Linked DNA regions of Homo sapiens: region 2 is linked to region 1. The links are contacts of gene promoters, found by promoter capture Hi-C in blood cells and fetal thymus (Javierre and others, 2016). All regions are on one chromosome and are shown on one strand. The core of a region is centred on a gene start or on the middle of the fragment in contact, and the rest is flanking DNA. Distances in the headings are between cores, read along the strand shown.

Evidence for each region. The method cuts DNA at HindIII sites, captures the fragments that hold promoters and counts their contacts. A CHiCAGO score of 5 or more calls a contact.
Region 2: a contact is called between a fragment that was not itself captured here and the fragment with the promoter of AKAIN1 in region 1, in 1 of 17 cell types (naive CD4 T cells). The highest score is 5.5, in naive CD4 T cells.

Annotation. Positions count from the first base shown.
Region 1 is chr18:5,195,242-5,201,095 of GRCh38, reverse strand. It overlaps AKAIN1 (A-kinase anchor inhibitor 1), which reads left to right and starts at 3,839. Exons shown (of 2, transcript NM_001145194.2): 1 at 3,839-4,058. The coding sequence starts at 4,043. The HindIII fragment of the contact is 4,568 bases long and covers 3,333-5,854 here.
Region 2 is chr18:5,105,254-5,111,009 of GRCh38, reverse strand. No RefSeq gene overlaps it. Among named protein-coding and RNA genes, the nearest start is that of LINC01892, 27 kb to the right of the region's middle. The HindIII fragment of the contact is 3,994 bases long and covers 653-4,646 here.

The sequences.
Region 1 (5,854 bases), core at 2,590-5,089:
TAGAGTGAATGGATACAGACTTGGAGAAATCTGAGAGTTATAGCTCTAATCTCCCTATGGTGATTTCTTTAGGGTCTCCAATTTAATGTTTATATATCACATACATTTTTATTCTATTTTATAATGTACCCATGCTCACTTTTTAATTAAAAATTTTCCCAAATTTCCAAGTAAAATCACTGGTTCCACAGGAAACTTTTTCCTCCTGTGCCTTCTCATTCATTCAGCACCCTGTTAAGCATCTGGTGGATGCCCCAAATTTGTTTACTATCTTGCTTCCTATCACTATTCCCATAATTGACCAGATATGACAGTGCTAAAAGTCAGAATGGGGTACATGGTGGTGGTAGCTGACTCTCTGACAAATGGCTGTCTTCAAATGCAGTGGACTGTTTGAGTAGAAAGTGAGTCATTCTGAGTGGAGGTGTTAAAACAGAGAGCAAAATATTATTGAGAACCTCATTGTGGGGTAAGACTGGATAAATGGTCTATCAAAGAGAATCTTGTTCTTATCCTAGTAGAATAAGAGGAGGCTTTCATTTTCCTATCAGGCATTCTATTGTTAAATTGATCATTTATATTAAGATGTAAAGACATAAGAAAAAATCTAAGGCCTTGGCAGTGGCTCACACTTGTAATCCCAGCACTTTGGGAAGCTGAGGCAGGTGGATGGCTTGAGCTCAGAAGTTCAAGACCATCCTGGGAAACATGGCAAAAGCCTGTCTCTAAAAAATGCAAAAATTAGCTGGGCATGGTGGTGTGCACTTGTAGTCTCAGCTACTTGGGAGGCTGAGGTGGGAGGATCTCTTGAGCCTAGGAGGCGGAGGTTGCAGTGAGCCGAGATGGCACTGCTGCACTCTAGCCTGGGCAACAGAATGAGACCTTGTCTCAAAAAAAAAAAAAAAAAAAAAATCTAGTAGCATTATTGGGGTGTTTCAATAAAGCTAACAGAATAATAACCCAAGTAGTAGTAAACATTGGAGATAGTATTGTTGACTGTAACATTTACTGGTGAAATAAATGAAACTGTAAAATAGAAAAATCACTGAAGTACCTCGGTTTTATTGGAAATAAAACAATGGTTCTGACTAAAATATATGCACACGAAAATTGGATTGGGAATATATTGTCCTCTGGCTAGTGATGTTGGGTAGAAAAAAATGAAGAGGTGATTGGAGGATGAAGGGCAGAAAACAGCTGAGGATGGAGGTGAGAAGAGTTGTTTTTTTTTTCTCTGTTCTTGACCTGTTGAGCTGGATTCTTACTACCTCCTATTGCTAATCAAATAGCCCAAGGAGCCCCAGACCATTTTCAGGCATTCTTTCTTTCTACTACCATCTTGGCTACTGTTTATCTTGGTAGTCTATGGGAATCCATCTGGGTTCCTTCTTTGTTTAAAACTCAAAAAGATAAGCTCTGAGGTTGGGAAAGATACAAGTAATTTCCTTCTGTTTAAAAGCTGATGCCTCTAATACCTTGCTAACCAAGTTTACTCCATAGACCAGCAGCATGGACATTACCACGGAACTTGTTGGAAATTCAGAATCTCGGGACCTAACTGCTTGTATTAGTTTGTTTTCATGCTGCTGATAAAGACATACCCGAAACTGGGAACAAAATAAGGTTTAATTGGACTGACAGTTCCATGTGGCTGGGGAGGCCTCAGAATCATGGCTAGAGGCAAAAGGCTCGTCTTACATGGCAGTGGCAAGGGAAAATGAGAGAGAAGCAAAAGCGGAAACCTCTGATACTGATAAACCATCATATCTCGTGAGACTTATTTACTATCACGAGATTAGCATGGGAAAGACCGGCCCCCATGATTCAATTGATTCGTACTGGGTTCCTCCCACAACATGTGGGAATTCTGGGAGATACAATTCAAGTTGAGATTTCATGGGGACACAGCCAAACCATATCACTGCTGAATCATAACCTTTTTTTTAAAACAAGATCTCCATAGGATTCTTACGCACATTAATGTTTGAGAAGCACTGGTCTAACATATTTTGTTTGCTTTCCCATAGGGTGTACTCTACTCCCAGGGTGCCAGTGATTTCCTGGAATGAGTTTAATTGAGGCTGTGCTCTCTCTTAATTAATCTGTTAATCCATCTCACAGCTAATCCTTACAACAAACCTTCAAGATACCTTAATCCTTATATTGCAGATGAGACAGGACAGGTTAAGTAACTTATTTAAGGTCATGCATCTAGTAAATGATGAGGATGTGGTACCTGGGTCTCAGTCTGATTCTCAAGTCTTTTGTTGTTGTTTTTCCTATACTATATTGCTTTTCCTTGAACTTAATCATGGGTAACTGTTTATGTATTGGGAGATGAAAGCCCATTTAAACATAAGGGCTGTAAAAGACAGCCCTTTTGAGTGTGTTACAAGAAAAACACCTTTCATTCCAAAATTATTTTAAATACTGTTTTACACTTCCCGTGGGATGAAGAAAAGAAGACAGAGTGAAGCATCATTGGAGAAACTTGGCAAAATGGGAGAACTCTATCCTGTCATGCACACGCTTTATCCTGCCCATCAGCTGACTTTCATCTTGCTGCTGCTGGGGTAGGCCCCATATGTTCAAGCCTGTGTTGAGCCAGGTGCTAACAGCAGTACTGATTGTATTATGTTGAGGCTGCCCATATGCCTTCATGCAAACTGTAGTTCAAAAGCTGTAAAACTATTTGCATTTTCAGTCTATCGGATGGCTTTAAAAAAAAAACAGTGCCAATCAGTCTATTTGGATGCTTTATATTTGCCAAAAGACTGTAGAACTTATTGCCATCAACCAATTATCAGGAAATACTTAATTTTCAGAATAGTTACATTTTCCAGGGATAGTTGCAAGTGAAGAAACCCCATAAAACACTGGAGATGACCTTGATTACCTTTGTTCTTGGAAAACCTTATTTAGCTGGAAAAATAGGGGAGAGGCTGGAGGATTCTGGGTGGCTTTAGCTTTGGGTTTGTAACCCACATGGACCTGTTTCAAGCTGGGTGACATCTAGTGTGGGCTGTTCACACTGCACAGACATTATTAGGGAATAGATACCTAAAGTGAGCAATGATTAGGAGGATGAAGTGAGCATAAGGCAGTCCCAGTACCTTTAAGGTAGAACTGGGTGTATGAGCGGGGCATGCAGACAGTTTTCAGCTGGGTGAGGATAGGGGAAGAACTGATGTTTCTTGATTGATCTCAGGGCTGTTCTCACACTTGCAGGGGGCTCTGTTGGCTCTTCCTTGTGAAGGGTGTATGCGTTATCTTTCCTGTGCCCTGGCCGGCCTTGCTTTTTCTAAAGTGATGACCTTGAGGACCTTCAAGCTTAGGAGCTTTCAGAGCCGGATTTGCCACCTGGGAGCGGAACCTGATAGTAGCGCCCTCCTCGAGCGCTCCATAGTCACTGTGTCCTTCCTCTTGCTCTCTTCCTGACGTTAGCAGAGGACTGGGACTCGCGAGAGAGGACTCACGGACCTCCAGGACCTATTAACTTGACAGACCCGCCCCTCTATTCGAGCCAGCCCAACTCGGAGAACTCAGAGTCATCCTCGAGAGTAAAGAAAGCTCTTAGAGTTTTTTTTTTTTGACAAATCTATCTTAAATGTCAGTCCAATATCCACGGCGACGAGCCACAGCAGGTAATTAAAAGCAATTCACTGTCCCCTGCCGGGAAGTTTACCTTTCTCTCTCTTGCTCTTCCGACCTTCGTCGCGTGAAAGCGGTGGAAGTGCTTTGCTCCCTAAGCAGCAGTGTACGTCGCCGAGCTGGCACAGGAATGAGGGATGGACTGAGCGGGGATTCACCCTCCTCCTCCCGCCGCCGCTGTGGCCGCATTGTGGAGGCAGAGCGCGCGGCGGCGGCTGGAGCTGCGGCCCCAGGATCTAGCGGCGGGAGCTGTCCGGGGTGCTGACCGCCCCGCCCGCCGCCCGCCCAGCGCGCCCTCCTGCACCGGACCCCGCCAAGTCCGGCCTTCTTCCCATCCTCCGTCTGCCTGTCTTTCTCTCTTAATCTGGGGGCGTAGCGGCTGGAAGAAATCATGGTGTTCGCTCCAGGTACACCGCACCTTGCTTTTTCACCAAGTGTCTAGGAGGGGAGCAGGGTAGAGGACGGAGAGGAGAGGGAAAAAAGGCCTCTTTACCTTACGGCCCATCTGCGCGTTTCGGAGTTACTGTCTGTGCTCATGGGGCGGAGGAGTGCCTCGGCGCGTCGCCTTCGCCCCTCTCCCCAGTCCCGCCCCATCTGTCCTCTAACAATCTCCAGCCCTTCCTCGCCCTCGTCCCGCTGCTTCTCTTCCCATCTGGCTCCTCCACACCCCTTCCGAGCTCAGGAGCCTTAAGAACTGGGACTTTCGCCAGCAGCACCGGCACCTACACGGGCAAGAGAGTGGAGAGGTGGGGCAAAGAGTAGTGGGCTTCGGGCTACTTGCGTGGGAATCTCCCTCACTGCTACTTCCCCCTCCGCAGAATTGGCAAAGTGACCCGGGTCCTCCTGGCCTCCCGAGGAGAAGGAGGCGAAGTGGGCGAAGCCAAGGGGAGTAGGACGAAGGGCAGAGGAGCGATACTTCTTAAGGAATTAGACCTGAAACTCCGACCGGAGGCTGCAGCACAGAGGCAGCTACTGCGGCGCCGCTGGAGGTTGCCGTGTCTTTTTGGAGCAGGCGGTGAAGGACCTTGGTCCCTTTGCTGCTCTCCGTGGCTACTAGTTGGCGAAGAGTCAGATTTGTCTGCGGTTGACCGGCTTGGCGGCGTGTGCGTGCGTGCGCATTTGAGTCCGCCCCACTGGAGCAAGGGAGGCCAGGCTAATCGAGGAAGCGGGGAAAAGCGTGGTCGTTGTGAACGTCCGACGCTGTCTCTAGGGGTAGATCCAAAGTATTTCTCTCTCACGCATTTTAGGGTCTGATTTCGTTAAAGACTGCTGTGGAAAACAGGGAGTGGGGAAGGCTGGAGGGGCCTAGAACTCTCTAGCTTTGTTCCTGGGGTCTTTAACTTGAAAGATTGGCATGTATTTGCTGTGGTCATGGGCTTCAGATGGCTGGGGAGAAAAGGCGTAATGCATTTTTTTTTAAAGGGAAGAATTGAGTCTTTTCTTCAAAAAATTCAATTAGCAAAACTTGAGAAGAGCAAGTCAGTCCCCTCCCCCTCCCCCTCAGAATGCTAGCTGGGGAGGGAGGGATGAGTTTCTGTAGGCTCTGGCTTTACCACAGGCAGTGGTTCTTAGAGGAACGCCTTAAAGGAATGCCCAGGAGCTCTTCCCATGCCCATCCTAAATAACTCAAGGGAGGAAATTGTTCCATATAGCAAAGGACATTCAATCAACACTGGAGCAAGGAAGTTGGAAAACAGCTCTTTGCTGCATTTATACAGCACTTAACACTTTACAAAGCAGTTTCATGCTGCTATCTCATTTGATCTCCTAATTACCCTGAGAGTTAAGGAATATCATTCCTACTCTACCATCCCCAGGGAGGCTGGTTCCAGATAATCTTGCTAGTCTCTAATGGAGTTTTCTGACCTCGAATTCTGTCTTTTTCTCCCACAACCTTTCTTCCTGACAAAATATCTCACTGGCTCCAGGGGTAGATGATTTTTGGTCCAAGGTCAGATGTAGCCAGAGACTCAGCATATCCTTTCCATTCCAAGGAGGGGAGGGATATGGTGTTGTACAAGAGTTAGGGTTGTTGCGTGATGTTAACTAGGCATTTTCTAAAAGCAAGATCGTGAGTGATGGCCACTGTAATGAACAGTGGGGAATTTCTGGAGTAGACTGGCTTGGTTTAAAGAGCCCACAATTTGGACAGGACTTTACTTTTCCATTTTACTTTCAAGTTTTGTATTAGTGTTTTGTTCTG
Region 2 (5,756 bases), core at 1,400-3,899, 89 kb after region 1:
GAAGGCGATTATAAATTGGCCAAGAAGAAAGTATTTTTGAAATGCTGGGTAAATGCAGATGCAGAGGTTTGGGATGGAGAGGTTACCTTCTCTCAGAGTAAATAGAACTGAGGAAACCAAGGGCTTCAGGGAGCTTCAGATTTCTCTGGAAATCTTGGTCAGAGTCAGGGGAACTGGAAGTAAGATGTGGGAGGAAGAGCAATTAAAAAAAACAGAATGGCATTTGCAAAATGTATATATGTACATAGAGATCATAAATGTTAATTGGCCTTAGGAGCATTTGATCAATGCTATTTTGTATTTTTCTAATAAGCTTTAAAGTACATATTAGTAATTTAAATACTTATTGGAGGATGTTTATAGTTACAGAACAATATTTTCTGTTTGCTATTCCTTTTGCCCTGTCTCTTGAATATATCTCAGTGTTCCTTTCAAATATAAGATAAAGTTAAAAGGTTTTTTTAATCATCTAATTAAGGATGAAAGATTAGCTAACTGAATTATAAAGGGGCTGATCTCTCTCCATTCCCCACCCCATCCTCCTGCTTCTTTTATAAGTGAATTAACATGCAATTTAAATTGAATGAATTATAGCCTATCAGAAGATATAATTTAATAGCTCCTGGAACAAAAACCAGTAGGGAAATAAGCTTAACTGAAGTTAAAGTTGCCTTAAAATGTAGTTTGAAATTGGATTTTGAATTACTTAATATATAAATTCCAGAGTTCTGAAGCATGATGTATTTTGGTTCTGATTGTTTTTATGTTCTTTGTGTTAAAATTTGACACATTTCTAAACTATATAATTTGATTGTAACAATACCTGTATTGATTTTAATAGTTTATAATTAACCATCTATAGGTATAAAATGCTAGAGCTGAGGGAGCTTTCAGCATAGTATTTCTGAGAGTTCTTCAGAAGCCTAGTCTTGTAAGATGCACTGAAAATCAAAATTATTCTTCAGGTAATCAAGTTGAAAAATACTGCACACAGTGACCCACTCTCAGAAACTTGCAATGGGCATGAACTTATTAAAGACTCTGGTAAGTTTTCAACAACAAAAACCTATCAGTTTTTGTTCAACTGTTGTTCCAATATACTTCACCACAGAGCCCTTCTGGACAAACAGCTATTAGTGACTTTGTAATATTTAGTCCCAGGTCAAGTGACTTGCCCAGGGATACACAAACGCAAAAATCCTGATTCTACAGCTAGCTAATGTTCTCACCCCAAAGAAAAAATATATATCATTATTATAGCCGATTTTCAGAGAACACATGCTTACTACTAGTGATTGTTTTAAAAATGTTCATAATCATCTGTTTAATAACCTGTTCTAAATGTTGCTGGTTATTAATATCAAGTTCTTCAATCTGTAGTTACTACTTTTTTTTTCCTCTTCTAAATCAGATTTTATTAATATTTCTGATCCACTATGACATCTAGTGTAGTTACTACTTTTTGAAACTGAAGACATTTGCCAATCTTTAATTCTTTGATTTAAAAAAATTTGTCTTGGTTTCCCAAATATATTGATAATGGTTTTATAAACATGTATTCAAGTTTCATATGATATAATTGTTCTGATTTGGTTATTTGAAATTCTTGAAAGCAACAAGTTATTCTCTTACAATTACCTCATATATCTTAAGTTTACTTTTCCCTTTAACCATTATTTTGACTTTTCAATTCTTCTCCTTCTTAAAGTAAAATAAATGGAATATTACTTTAATTTTTGCTTATGGCCAGCTCTATACAACAACATTAGTGGTATGTAATTTAATCCAATATGTAATACTTATATATTGGCTTTTGGAGCTTTAGATTTAAAACATTAAATCTAGGAAAACTTTAGGAAATTTTGCTCATGATATGCCCATAATTTAAATTTAATCCTGGAGTATTTCTAGAATTTCTCTGAAAATTAACTCATGTATTTGGATTAATTTCTGATTAATTCAAACATTACTGCCTGTACCCACCGACAAAGAGGAAAACTGATATAATACTGAATGTCACCACCTGGTTTAAAAACGGGAACTATCTTTTATATAAGCAGTAGTTGGTCCATATCCATGATACTCATGAAATTCTTAAGATAAAACTTCCCTAAAGGCACACCAGAGTGTAATCTACAGGCCTGGCAATATAAAATAAGAGAGTTTGAAGGAAACAGCCTCAAATGACATTTATTAGGGTGAATTTATGAAGGGAGGGAAATTCAATGGAGGGAAATACAATGTAAAATTCTGCAGCTTTGATGGGGCACAGTATGTATAACAGATTCAGAATGTTCCCCCTGTGTTGGGAATAGCATAGGAACAGTTACTATACTATTTATTGATTGATGGTTAATCAATGGGCAAACTTTTCCTACAGAAAAGTTAAGAGCTTGACATCATGGAGGGCTCCATTCTGTGTGAAGTGATGAGGCAAGAAAGTGAGGGAGACTGGTAAACCCACAAAAGAAGCTGGTGAAAGAGTGGGGAAGACAATTGGTGTAGGATGTAGACTCAGCTTTCAACTAGCAATTGCTTGAGATCTATGGACTCTGAGGTATGATGGAAGGCACGACACCAACTCCAGGTAGCATAACTACACTGATAAATAACATTTCCTGAGATTCTGCTATGTCCAGGTATTTTCAATTAGAATTCAGTTTGATCATCAGTACAGCCACAATCAATATTATAATTACTGTCTTGTATAAATGTGAAAACTAAGGCTTAAGGAGTTAAGAAATTTGTTGAAGTTCCTGGAAAGTGTCAGGGCCAGACTTTACGTCTGAGTCTGTTGAGTTATGAGTTCAGGACCTTGGCCAGGTCCTGGCTATACTGTCTACCAATAGAAGTGTCCAGGCAAGCAGTTGATGCTGATGTCCAGGATATCTGAATAGAAAATTAGTACATCAGAATAAACATTTGGGAGAACACTTACTCAGCCCCACGTTCTGACCTTTAAGGTTTGGTGTGAAGAACCATGGCTGTAATGAATTAAATATAATCCTTGTTTTAGGGAGGTCTCAGTCTAGTGTGTTTAAGACAAGTCCTTCCAAAGCATTTTGACAGCTGCAGAGAGGACATGAAGCACTGGAATTTGAATGCTTGCTGCCAGGTGTGTACTTCTCAGATCCCCACAGCCTTCACTGCTTCCTACTGTTAGTTGATTCACCCATTTTCAATATGTTCTGGACCCTTAAGACATTTCAGTTGATAACTTTAGTTCAGAATTTGTTGCACAGGGGAGAGAGGGGGCAGTGTTCAAGTAGTTGCACTTTTAGTGAGGTGATGAGTACATAAATAAAAAAAAAAGTAACATCATTTATAAATTTGGTATTTAGAAATATTTTCTTTCTACCTAATTAAGTATAATTTTCCTCCCTGTTTTAGCAAAACCCAGTCATTCTTTCTTTTATTTATTTAAATTATGACCATGTGATAGTATAGTGTCTTATTTATATATTTGCTTTTGGCTAAAAAGTTTGTAATCATATCTTTATTGAAAAAGTGTTTCATACTTACAAAATAAGAAAAGGAAAAAAATTACCCTTAATCCTATTGCTACAGGGAAACACTGTTCCTGTTAACTTCTGGGGTTTTATGTACAAGTATACTCATTTCTACATTTTTTCCCAAAATGAGACATTCTATATATGCTATTTGTAACTTATTTTTTTCCACTTAGCAGTATGTCATAAATGTTTTTTGTATCATTAAGCATATTAATTTTTGACTTACATAGACTTTGTTGAAAGGATCTGTCATAATTTATTTAATTAAATTTCCATTGAAGAGCATTTATTGACCTTTATATTAATAATTTTTATTTACTTTTAAATTGAAATTTACAAGGAAATACCCAGTGTTCATTTTCTGATTGTTAAGAATGAGTTAAGTTTCTCCATGATTCTTAATGTTGTCAGTGCTGATGACTTGAACAGAGCCACTTACAACTTCCTGTTAATGTTTCTGAGATGAGAGACACCGAAGAAGATCCATTTTAACTAACCCTTGACAGAAGGATGCAAAGTAAATGAAGAAATGATTCATGTGACTCTAAACCTGAGACCTGACTTGCTTCTCTTGCTTGGCACTAGGTGGCACTTTAGCTGTTGAAAAGAAATGTCAGGTAATCTTTAGAAATGGAAGTTATTTAGGCTTGATTTCTGCCTAACCTTTCCAGTGATAATTACTTAGGTTCTTTCTGCTTTTTAAAATGTTTCTCCTGTATGATTACCCTTTTGCAGTACCATTTGGCAGGTTTCATTTTGTCCACTTTTAAACCTTCAAAATATTAGTTTTCCTCTCCCTCCTACTGGTCAGTCTGAAGTAAAATGCAAAACCAAAACCCAAAATAAACAAATGGAAACTAACCAACTAACTAACCAAACAAACAATCTGGATTAAAAGTGCGATAGAATCTTAACTTTGAGGAGTCTCAATTCAGATATAGCCCCCAGCATAAATAAATAAAATTTTTAGTTTTTCATGAAATAATTGAACATGAACTTTCAAAAACCATGCTTATAACTTACTCAAGTGCTGATGATGTGTGGGAAAGTGTTGAATCCTGGCTAAATTTTTTTCTGCCATCTTGTTAAGTGCCATACTCCCAGAATATGTTTGCATATACAAAGAAGAAAGCTTATTTGAGGAACACAATAAAAAGGCACATCCTACATTAAATTCATTTGATTGCCATAAGCGATTAATTTCTTGAATTATTAGATGATTAGAATTATGATGTTGAGTTTTCTTTTCAAAAGAGCAGATTATTGGGAGTTCACCCATGCATTAATAGGTTAATTTTGACTTTGATAGACACAACAATTCCCCAAACAGGCTGCTTGCTTCTCTTGTTAACACAACTAAATTAATTCTATTTTTTTAGGAAAATGAGTGTCTTTGTACTTAGTTTTATTATTTTTTCAAATTCAGCATATTTCCCAAGGATAAAGCCCCATAAATGAAATTACCAGCTCAAAAGGCATGCACATTTTAAAAGATATTAGTACATATCACCAAATTGATTTTGAAACAGGTCAACAGGCTGTTAATATGGAAGGGCCACAAATTTGTTCTCCCATGATAAATTCTTACTTTAATTATGTTTTAGTTACTCACAACATCACCATTTTAGAGATGCTTGAAGAGTTTTCTCTTTTAATACTGATTTATGAGATAGACTCCTTTCTTTCAAAGAAAATTAAACCTCTTTACTTTGTGCAACTTGTAACTTTTAATGTGACTGTTGGAAATAAATTACAAGGATTTGCTAGCCCCAGTTGCTAGTTTTCTTGCTCTCTTGGGATATATGCCACATGGACCCACTGATTTTAAAGTTGTATGATATTTTGCAAACATCCATGAAGAATTTTTGCAAGTATTTTCCTAATGTTGCCTCCTATGAGTTAAATAGCAGACTTGGAATAATATTGAGATCAGCTCTCTAAATTGATTTAGTCTGTTTCTATTTCTTATTTAATTTGAGAAGAAGTTGAGAGTCAGACATTATTCTTGGTTTTCCAATAATCTTTCTGGATGAGCTCTGAAGTTGGCATCTATGATACCTAATAAAAAATCTGGGTTATTCTTTTGATGCTTTTGAAGCATTTCTAAAGAATATCCTAACAGGATGCTACATACTGAAAATAAGAAAAGATGCAGCAGGCTAGTTAGAATATTTATTTATTTATTTAGTGAGACGAAGTTTCACTCACATCACCCAGGGTAGAGTGCAATGGTGTAATCTTGGC